Linked DNA regions of Homo sapiens: region 2 is linked to region 1. The links are contacts of gene promoters, found by promoter capture Hi-C in human tissues and cell types (Jung and others, 2019). All regions are on one chromosome and are shown on one strand. The core of a region is centred on a gene start or on the middle of the fragment in contact, and the rest is flanking DNA. Distances in the headings are between cores, read along the strand shown. Region 1 holds the start of GJC3 (gap junction protein gamma 3). Region 2 overlaps CYP3A7-CYP3A51P (CYP3A7-CYP3A51P readthrough).

Region 1 (5,661 bases), core at 1,026-3,525:
ATAAAGCTGTTTTAAAAGGGGGTGGTATAAGGAAGAATTCCAAATGATGCTATTTGCGTTTTTCCTTGGTCACTTTGGCTGGGCTCTGGCTACAGTGGATGAGGGATTCTTATGAAGCACTTGTGTAGCAGGAAGAAAAAAAAAATTTCCTAGCTATTGCCAAAGCATCCCTTGGGATCCCCTAACTTACTTGGGGATAATTTGGGATTCAGAAAGAGAAAAAAAAATAGATAACTGCCTTTGTTGAGAATTTCAGGGCAAGAGAAAACTAAGAAAAGAGGGCAGCGTTCTGTTAAAAAAAAAAAGGGATAGAACAACACTGTCCAACAGAAATGACTAAGAGACTCGAGAAGACTGATATTCAGATTGCAGTTACCCGCCGAATCACACTGTGATGTCAGCCTCCCTTGCTGTTACTCCCAAATCAGCATATCAGCAGTAGAACTCTACTGCTTTTTCTGTGTGGTATTGAGGGTTATGAAATTAAAGAGTAGGAACTTGGTCCAGCATGAGTTGCTGCAGTTCTGGAGACAATTGTAACAAGCTGCAACGAGAACTGCAGAAATGAAGAATGAGAATTGAGCAGAAATCAGAGCTATCAGTGATCAAGGGGGCCTAAGCCCCTGAATTCACAGTAATTTTCCTTAAGGATATGGCCGGGTATTTGGATAAATCTATAGATATTAGAGGACACTGACTTATATATGCTTGAAGCCCAGAGTTTCTGGCTTATGACATGTGCTGCAGGTCTGAGGGGCATTCATTTACAAAACTTTGATGATAAGGGGAGCAGAGAATGTGGAAAAACAGAAAAGAGGTAAATGAAGCCAGTGAGACAGGAAGGGGCATTATCTTCAGCAACAGGAATGCCAACAGCAGTCATCAATATTTATTGAGCAGGACAGGGGAGAGACACAGTTTAGGGAGGCTTCTCCCGGCTGACTCTTGAACCAAGCCCATAAAAATTGTGATGCTGACACCAGAAAATTCCAGTGAAAAGGCACAGTCAGGAAATGCTTTAGACTACATGGCCCAAGGGGCCCTTAGAGATCCTTCAACAGCCTCTAATTTGTCACAGACATGAATCCCCACTCACTGGATGTTGGAAAGAAGATTCAATCACAGAGTTTCCTTCAGGCAAGTCAGGTGTCTTTATAACTCTGCAAAGTAGAGAATCAAGAAGAAGCTGAGATTTTTCCTAAGTGGAGAGAGACCTAAATGGAAGTTCAGGAGGGACAACGGACTAGCACTCTTGTCCTTGTTCGCTGGAAGGAACCATCAAGTTGATGGGGATGGACATTGGGATAGATTTTGAGAGCAAGAGAGAACAAAGAAAAGGGTTGGGAGTGGCGGTCAGAACACATCTGCCTAGAACCTGGTTACCTACTTTGTAACATGCAGAAGTTGTACTTCCCAGAAAGGTGAGGGACCTGCCCCGGGAGGAGATCATCAGGACACAAACATCAGTGACAGGAAGAGAGCGTGTCCTTCTCACCTGCTTCTTGAAATTGCTCTTTGGTTTCCACCACTGGGAGGCTATCGGTTGCTTTCTTGTGTCTTCTGGTGCTCTCTGAAGTTAGGAAGTATTTAGAAGAGGAAGATTTGTGCTTCCAGGTCCTCCACCATCTCCCCAAACCCAGAAGCACAAGCTCCAAAAAAGTAAACAAGAGACAGAAACCGCTGACTCCAAACATGGTCTTTAGGAAAATGGTCTTCTCAGAGGGGCGGGACAGATTGCAGGTTATACTACCAAGGCAAGGTTCTCGGCGACATGCAAAGGAGCTGGGCATCTGGAACCCATACAGGTGGTACTGCAACCCCAGGGCTGCCCCCTCCAGGACAAGCCGAGCCCCCAGCTGAGCCACATAAGCCCAGAGCAGCCTGAGGCTTCCAGCCCCTGGGACATCTGTGTTGCCCTCCCGTCCCTGGATCAGGGTCTCCTCCTCCTTCCCCTTTCCTGATAATTCCCAGTGCCAGATCACGTGATACAGAGTGAAACCCATATAGAGGGCGCTGGGTACAGCCACCAAGATGACCTGGAAGACCCAGAAACGCAGCGGGGAGAGGGGGTGGAAGGCATCGAAGCAGGCAGCCTTGCAGCCCGGCTGCTGGGTGTGACACACGAATTCACTCTGCTCATCACCATAGACTCCAGGCCCACTGGCAGCCAGCAGCACAAGGCGGAATCCCAGGAGCACGGGAAGCAAGAGGCGCCCCACGGGGGTGGAGCGCCGGCTCTCCTCCGCCAGCAGCCGCCGCAGGAACCTGCCACACATCCTGTTTTGGAGCAGAGGACAAGAGATCAGTGTTGTTCACTGTCCTTCAGAGGGAGCTCCAGTCCACCTTGTCACTCCTAATCCAAGGATCACTGAAGGCAAGCTTTTTTATTCCTCTCCAAGTATCTGACTGATTAAATACCAAGACTCTGATTGCACCTCTTTACTACTTAATGAAATCATCTATGTAAAATAATAACAGTGAGTGTGTGTGGTGTGGCTCTCTCTTCTGCCCTCCCCTTCTGTACTGCTGGAGTGGAGAGGAACTCTCAGGTTGGAGAGACCAGGATACATCTTCATCTCTCTCTTTCCCTCCTTCCCTCCGTCTCTCTTTCCCAAAGGCTGAACGTAAGAGAGTAGACTGGGATGTTTTGTTAATTTTCCTTTGAAAGGTATTGCTTCCCCAGCTGATGGCTGCCAGGCCTGGTGCTCCTACAGCATCATCTTAAGCAAATTAGTGCTGATGCTGAGAGGGAATGTGCATTCTCTTGCGGTCTTCTTTTCTCTTCCTCCATGCCCTTGGATGATCACAGGTGTGTCTGGATGTCCTCTTCTCCCATCACAGTGGTAAAGTTGAGAGGTAGTTAGGTTATGGGGCTAGATGTGATGGATGAAATGAACAGAGCAAGCATCGAGGCTTGCTTTAGTCTGATGCTCTTAGGCCTTACAAGCTGAGGAAGAAGAGAACATTTGGAAGGTAACCCAGCAGAATTTACCAGAATTACATACTATAGGATTTGGGGCCAGAGCCAGAACTGACTAGATAGAAATTCAGATTTTTGACCCCCACTTGCCATTGTTCCTTGGGCATATTATCTCCCTCATGGTGACAGGCGACCATGATCAAGGATAAGTTTCAGAAATCCCTCTGTTCCCCAGCCAAAATACCACAATGCTACAAGCCCAAGTTCACCATCTCTATATTTGTCCTAATCAGCTGCCTTCCCCAATGCCCAGCAGCTGTTTCAAACCGTCCCCATTTAGCCTAAATTCTCACTCATCTGGTTACCCTCACACTCAGAAGACCATGTGGTATGGTCTGAATGATGATCAAGATGCATATGCTAGAACCTAATACAGTAGTCCCCCCTCTTATCTGCGATTTCACTTTCTACAGTTTCAGTTACCCACAGTCAACAGAGGTCCAAAAATATTAAATGGAAAATTCCAGAAATACAAAATTAATGTTTTAAATTGTGTGCTGTTCTGAGTAGCACTATGAAATCTCACACCATCCCACCCAGGATGTGAATCATCCCTTTGTCCAGGGTATCCAACGCTGTAGACGCTCCTTGCTGGTTTGTGACTTAATCGCCATTTTGGTTATCAGATCAACTATCAATACTCGTTCAAGTAACTCTTATTTTACTTAAGAATAGCCCCAAAAAGCAAGAGTAGTGATGCCAGCATATTGTTACAATTGTTCCAGTTGTTCTATTTCTTTTTTTTTTTTTTTTTTTTTGAGACGGACTCTCGCTCTGTCACCAGGCTGGAGTGCACTGGCACGATCTTGGCTCGCTGCAATCTCTGCCTCCCAGGTTCAAGCAATTCCCCTGCCTCAGCCTGCTGAGTAGCTGGGACTATAGGGGCGCACCACCACGCCGGGCTAATTTTTTGTATTTTAGTAGAAACAGGGTCACTATGTTGGCCGGGATGGTCTCAGTCTCCTGACCTTGTGATCCACCTGCCTCGGCCTCCCAAAGTGCTGGGATTACAGGCATGAGCCACCATGCCCAGCCACAATTGTTCTATTTTCTTAGTAGTTATTGTTGTTAATCTCTTACTGTGCTAATTTGTAATTAAACTTTATCATAGGGATGTACATATGGGGAAAAAAAACATAGTATATATGGAGTTTGGTACTATCCACAATTTCAGGCATCCACTGGAGGTCTTGGAACATATCTCCCACAGATAAGGTGGAAGTGCTGTACTCAATGTGATAGTATTAAGAGGTGGAAAGGTGGAAGTGCTGTACTCAGTGTGATAGTACTAAGAGGTGGAGCCCTTACCAAGTGTCTTAGTCCATTTTGTGTTGCCACAAAGGAGAACCTGAGGCTGGGTGATTTATAAAGAGGTTTATTTGACTCACAGCTCTGCAGCCTGCACATCTGCTTAGCTTCTGTTGAGGGTTTCCATACTGTGTCAAAACATGGCAGGGAAGGTCAAAGGGGAAGAGGGACCAAACCCAAGGGGCATCCTGGCTTTACAACAACCCACTCTTGAGGGAACTAATCCATTCCCTCAAGAATGAATCCAGTTTCACAGAAGCGATAACCCACTCACTGCCACAAGAATGGCACCAAGTTATTCATGAGGAATCTGCCCCCAGGACCCAAACACCTCCCCCTAGACCCCACCTCCCAACACCATCAAACTATAGGGATTAAATTACAACATGAGATTTGGTGGGAACAAACAAACTGTATCAAACCAGAGGTGATTAAGCCTTGAGGAAAGAACCTTCATGAATGAGATTAGTGCTCTTATAAAAGATGCTCCAGGGAGCCCCTCCATCCCTTCCCACTGTGTGAGGATACACAAGAGGTGCCATCTAAGAGGAACAAGCCCTTGCCAGACACTGAATCTGCTGGTGCCTGGATCGTGGACTTCTCAGCCTCCAGAACTTTGAGAAATAAATATCTCTTATTTATGAATTACCCTCTCTAAGGTATTTTGTTATAGTAGCCCAAACAGACTAAGACACCACGAAAACCTCTTACTCCAAAGAGAAAATAGAGACACTGATGTGAAACCCCACAGATACTACTTTCTCTTATCTTAATATTTACTTCCTTTTCTAACATTGTAGAGAAAGAAGTGGACCTACAGTTATCCAAGTTTACTCTGCCTTCCAAATCTGTGTCCTTGGGTCTCATCTTTCCTGCTTCTTCAAGGATTTGTTCCCCAAATTATCTTCCCTGTAATTTGGACTTCCCCTGTGGTCTCAGTCAGAAGGATGGGTTGAGATGAGTCCCAGGGACAATTCTAAGGGTCTCAATTGACCAGAGAAATATGTCATCATTCACCAACTGCAAGACACTATATTTTGAGCCATTAAGAGTCAGAGTTTGAGTTCATCTAGGTTGGTCACGCATCCTCCCTCAACCAGCCCCATCTGTGAGGATACCTGCAGCCCTGCCCCATCTTGTAAGTCTAGGGGGGGTGTCCCTGGATTTATGGGAAGCATCCCCAGGGCTCTGAGGGTTTCTGTCCTTCCTCTCTTGAGAGTTATCAGACTAGATGATCATTAGGTAAATTCTCAAGTCTTGCTGTCAGCCTTGTTTTATTTCGAAGTGCAGGTCCAGCACCCTCTAAACACATTTCCGTCACATTTCCAGCAGACGTGGAATTTCACACAGGGTGGGTCTGACATATTTCAAGG
Region 2 (5,661 bases), core at 2,331-4,830, 230 kb before region 1:
GACAACAAAACCCTCACTTGGAAGAATTGGAATCAGGGAAACAAGCCTCAGGTATGCGGGAAAGATGATCTAAGCCACAGAGCTGACTACTGCTGCTGCTGGCCCTGTGGAGATAAGCTCATAATTTTCCATCCAGAGGCCAGGCCCTAGACAGAGCATCAGACCAGGTTAGGCACAAAGGCTCGACCAAAGTTCACAGTCCATGTGGCACATATGACATTTTATTCAGCAAAATTAAATATTTAATAATTTCATCAAATTATCACCTTTCTAGTGATTTTGCATATGATTCTGCCTTTGTTTAAAAAAAAAACCACAAATTCATTTTATGCTTAAATATCTGAGTTTGATAGATAACCACTATCTCATCTCAGTTATATCCACTCCCTGCTCAGACTCACCCATAAGGTGCAGCCTTTGAAATAAAAGAAGTAAAGCAGAACACCTTTGCTCTGACTCCCAAAGCTGCAAAAGATGTCATGGGGAGTAAGAGCTGGGGTAGAGCCATGGAAATACCTTCAGGGGATTTAGCATTTTTTGGAGAGGATTCAAGCAAGTGCGAATGACCCAATGGTAAATACTTGAGCTCCCTAATAAAGTGAGTTTCAAAGCTGTCCAGGAGGTAGGGGAAAAAGGCTACTCCTGAGCTCTTGCTATAGAGAGGAAAGTTTGACTCTCATGTACACAGATAGCAAGCCACAAATGGGGGCTCCTTTTCCTACTCTTAATACTAACTAAATATGACTGTACCTTCCTGGGAACCTACATGGGGCAAAAGAAAAATGTTCTTTATGGTGCTCACAAAGTCTGCACATCAAGTTCTGAACATCAGGTTGCCGATATACCTGAGATTTGGACTGTTCAACTGAGGCAAACCTGAGGTTCCTGAGAGTTAGCAAGAGAGTCCCGGGGTAAACCTTGCCATGCTCTGGATGATGCCTATACACTGTTTCTGAAAGTGTAAAACCTCAGACCTTCCTCCTGAGGAGAAGCAGTTTTACTGATGGAACTAAGCTGCTCTCTCCAATCATAAGAAGCCAAAGAGTGAGCTCAAAAACACTCACCTGATGGTAGGACAAAGTAGTTCCCAAAAAAAGCAGAGGTGTGGGCCCTGGAATGCCAAGCTTCTTAAAAAGTCCATGTGAATGGGCTCCATATCTACAAACTGAATCAGAAATCAGGTCTCAGGGATTGTGACTTTATAGATATGGGGGCTGGTAAGTCACTGACTGAGGAACTGGAATGCTCAAGAGAAGGAGGTAACATTAAGGCAATAAATGATAACAGTAACTCTGACAGCAATGATTATATTTGTACATCAAGTCCTTTCCCGTCTCCACCATGAGACACCAAAAAGTCACAATGATTAGTCGAAAGCAGCAGAAGTCTTTATGGTCCCAATCCTGGAATGAATACTTGATAAATGTCCTCAAACGTGAGTGCTCCTCAGAGGTTCAGGAAGGAATTCTTCCAGGGCACTTCATTTCCTTATGTCTATTTAGTAAGTGGACTCTTCCCTGATTTGGGGATTCTCATCCTAGGCAGAAAGGGTGACTTTTTTTTTTTTTCTCTTCTGCAGTGATGATGAGATTTTGCATCACTGCATCCACTCAGTCACAGAGGGTCACTGAGAGCCTATGGTGACCATGTCTTTAGAATTTGTGAAGAGTCTTTTATACTTTCCTTTCCCTCTAAGCTCTGACCCTATTTTAGGATCTGGCCCTTCTTAAACTGTCATTCATAGAGGGGTGTCAGAGGAGTCACAGAGTCCTTATTTCTACAGATTGACAACTGTGCTGAAGGCTTCCATTGGCCTCGTAGAAATGCAAGCACCTTTCAGCTACACCTCAGTCTCTGTGGCCAGATGATCTGGTTGATTTGCGCTATTGGGGAGGATGATTAACTCATATTTCCCTGAATGACAGTGTGCAGAAGATCCACAACTTAAAAAACCAATTTCCAGGACATTCCTCCTCTTGTGGAATCTAGCCTTCCAACTGGTGGTATTCACCTGATAATAAGCACACTGCCAGTGATATGGTCTGAATCTGCCCCTACGCAAATCTCATGTGGAAATGTAATCCCCAATGCTGGTGGTGGGGCCTGATGGAAGGCGATTGTATCTTAGGGGCAGTTTCTCCTGGTTTCACACCAACCCCCTTTGGGTGTTTCCTCGTGACAATGAGTTTTTATGAGATGTGGTGGCTTATAAGTGTGTGGCACCTCCTCCCCACCCTCTCTTGCTTCTGCTCCAGCCATGTAATATCTGCCTACTTCTCCTTCACCCTCTGCCATGATTGAACATTTCCTGAGGGCTCCCTAGAGGCAGAAGTCGCTATGCTTCCTGTAGGGCCTGTAGAACCATGAGCCAATTAAATCTCTTTTATTTATAAATTACCCAGCCTCAGGTATTTCTTTACAGCGATGTAGGAAAGGACTAATACACCCAGATATGCTCACTTTTTTCAAGGTGATCAATCACAAAGCAGTCAGTTTATTGCCTCTGCACATCAAGTATCTCTGTAGGAAAACCCATTAAGGCTGCTGCTCCCTATGGCAGGCCTGCTTGCAACTCATCTTTGATGGGTCATGTATGGACTCCCCCAACTGAGGGTTCTGGATATCTGAAGACCTTCCCAGTCTGATGTTACTGAGGGGTGGAAGACTGGAGGAAGAAGAAAGGCTGATGGCAGACATCACCAGCCATCAACTCAACCGTGAATCTGCTAGTCCCACAAGGTTGGTCCCAGAGAGGCAAATTAGGAAAATGTGGCTGAAAAGTATGGTGTATATAAATGGATCCATATGCGTCATGTGTGCTTTCAGCTGAAAGACAGGCACCTTCTAATGTCCAGGTACCTTCCTGTTGATAGCAAAAGGTACAGTATTCCACATAAGTAAACATAAAATGTTCCAGACAGTTGAATGAAGACCTTGTTTTCTCTTCTATAATGGGTAGCACTTAAGGCAGTATAGGTTCCAAACATTCTGTACAAATCCAGTGACTCTGATAATATGTGGTAAAATACAACTGAGAAATGGCATGGAGGGTCGTGTTTGGAGATCCCAGCAGAGGCAGCATATAGTGCATTTGGATCCTTGCCCCAGAATAGTTAGTGGAAATGTGTGCACCATCTACTGAAACCAGGGTGGCCTTGGGTTTTCTACTCCTGTTCCTTCTTTTATTGTCACAGCTATGGCAAATCAATGACACTAATCTCTGCTTCTACACTTTCTAGAAGTTACGTGATCTCTCAGGTCAGGACAAACTATTGAGTTAATCTGTCAGCAGCACTGTCCCCCAAGGAAAGATCTAGGTGAGTGTCTAGACTCACATGGTTCCATGTCAAGGCAGAGGCTGTGCTGGGCAAACTGTTTAGTTTCTTTCTAGCTCCCCTCTGGTAGAGTAATACCACTTTTGGTTCCAATGAAGAGGCTAACAGAAAAGCCAGTCATCTATTGCACGTAATTGTGTTGGCCTAAGGAGGGCATGGTCTACACTACAGTTTCTGACTCCTGGGCTGCACCAGCATTGTCTAAGGCTAAGGCATTGTCTGCCTGGCTGCCCGAGTCTGTAGTGACCGCCCCACAACATGGCAGACCACGCACACAGTGACACATTTGATGTCCCTGTGTCCAGGCTTGAAGCAGATGAGATGCCAACCTGTTTGCCTTTTGAGTGACCTCCACTGTGGGGCCAGGACCCATGAATATCTCTTTGGAGTTCTACCCTGAGAGCTGAGGAATATTTTCTTACTTCATACGGATCCTACGTGGATGCCTTTGCTATCATCACTAGCTCACAGTATTGCTTACTCCCCTGCCTGACAGTTTAAGATAACCTGCTAAGCAGGTATATTCAAAAAGGAGGTATTAAAATAAACTGTCAGGCATGTATATTTAAAAAGACATATCTTTTTAAATATAAAAAGATATACATAAATATGTATATCGCAGTCTTGTCTTAGCGATATACATTCATGCTTTAGACTCATATTCCTGACATTATTCTGGAGAGGTGATGTTATTTTACACACATTTATTGTCACAAATACTGAACTAACAGCCCTCTTTCATCATCCAGAAGGAACATGCTGGAAATATTCCATCTCCAAAAAATTCTGATTTAAAAATGAATGAATTTAAACCATATCAATTCATTTTAAAATGTTAGACAATGGAAACCATGTTGCCACAACTCACTGAATTCCTAAGCTTTCTGTGAAAAAATTAAAATGAAGTTTATATTTCCTATTTTCATGTCATTGTTGTTGCCTGCTCTTAAAAGTCAAATTGAGGTAGAAGTTAATGGGACAGGTGGAGCCTCCACTAACCACAGTGGAAAGTAACTCTTCTCTCCACCTGCTCTAGGATGCCAGGAATCCCACCAGTGAGAGGGTTCATCCTCCTTTACTGTAACACAAAGGGGAAAAAATGTGTAAAATCCAAATTGGCTTTCACAGCTCCTGCCTTTTCAGGCTGCTAGCAGATTCCCATTAGCTGAGAAACAAAGCTCTATATTAATGCTAGCCTCCCAGAGACGGGAGGAAAAAGATTAAAGCAAAGAATAAATCTTCAAAACTTCCTCCAAGTCTCCTTTGCTCTGGAGATTAATCATTGCAAGGTAAATAGTTCTGTGTATGACAGGGTGGAGGAGTGAGTCATAGGAGGGAGGGGATGTTTTGGGACATGGCACAGGAAAGAGGGAAGAGCCGGGGGACAGCTTCCCGTGAAGTCTTGGTGTTCCCCGGTGTGTTATGTAAATGATATCCTGGGGTGGAAGTTAGGGGAGCAGGAACCACCAGGTCCACAGAGGAAAAACTTCTACACATCTCTTCCAGCAGACAGAGAACCCAGAAAATGAAGGTAATGAGACAAAAACCCAAGCTGCTCCCTCCTGCCCCCAGAATCCCGAGAACCTGGGAAGGGGATGAGGATCACACTTCTCGTCTTGTTCAGCAGTTTGTAATCTGCCTTTGCTGGGTTTTCATTTTCATTGATTAGTATAGGTCAAATCTAAGCTAATCAAATCATTCCCACTAACAAATGCTGTCCCCAAACCCTCCTAGTCACCAAAATTAGAAGGTGGCTGGGACAAATGCTTATTTATTTCTTCATAAATCTGCATAAGATCAATAATAACCTCTATGTGTTTGTAGCATCCAAGAAGCTACTCCTCCTTGAACATCTCTTTTGATCTTTAAAACAGATGAGGGAACAGGGGCCTGAGTAGCACCCCAAGTCCAAGTTAACAGAGGAGAGGAATCTGGACAGTTACTGACAGATAGAGGAGCACAAGGCTGACAGCCAGGAGAAGCCAGGTTTCCACCGCCAAATTTGGGATGAGGTCCATCGCCACTTGCCTTCTTCAACTGTCTCCTCTGAGTCTTACTTTCAGCTGTGTGCTGTTGTTTGCTGGGCTGTCTGCCTGGAGCATCCCTGCCCTGCACAGCAGTCTTAGGTCAAGCTGCTGAAATGTTTATGTGCTGGAGAAGGAGGCGGGGCTGCAGCTGCAGCCAGTAGCAAAGAATCGCACACACCCCTTTGCTTACCTCCTTTGAGTTCATATTCTATGGGGAATCATAAACAACTTAATCAGTTTTATCAGGGAGTCCACGGAACCTGAGTTCTTATCAGAAACTGAAGTGGAGCCATTGGCAT

The links. The method cuts DNA at HindIII sites, captures the fragments that hold promoters and counts their contacts. A contact is called where the count stands out against the background at its distance.
Region 2: a contact is called between a fragment that was not itself captured here and the fragment with the promoter of GJC3 in region 1, in 2 of the 25 tissues and cell types used here (lymphoblastoid cells and mesendoderm cells).

What each region holds. Positions count from the first base shown.
Region 1 is chr7:99,927,345-99,933,005 of GRCh38, forward strand. It overlaps GJC3 (gap junction protein gamma 3), which reads right to left and starts at 2,276. Exons shown (of 2, transcript NM_181538.3): 1 at 1,496-2,276. The coding sequence starts at 2,276. RefSeq lists enhancers at 1,489-2,074, 2,075-2,659. The HindIII fragment of the contact is 8,959 bases long and covers 1-4,818 here.
Region 2 is chr7:99,694,682-99,700,342 of GRCh38, forward strand. CYP3A7-CYP3A51P (CYP3A7-CYP3A51P readthrough) reads right to left here. Exons shown (of 15, transcript NM_001256497.3): 14 at 1,065-1,165. It also overlaps a transcript of ZSCAN25 not described here and the pseudogene CYP3A51P. Among named protein-coding and RNA genes, the nearest start is that of CYP3A5, 18 kb to the left of the region's middle. The HindIII fragment of the contact is 7,451 bases long and covers 1-5,661 here.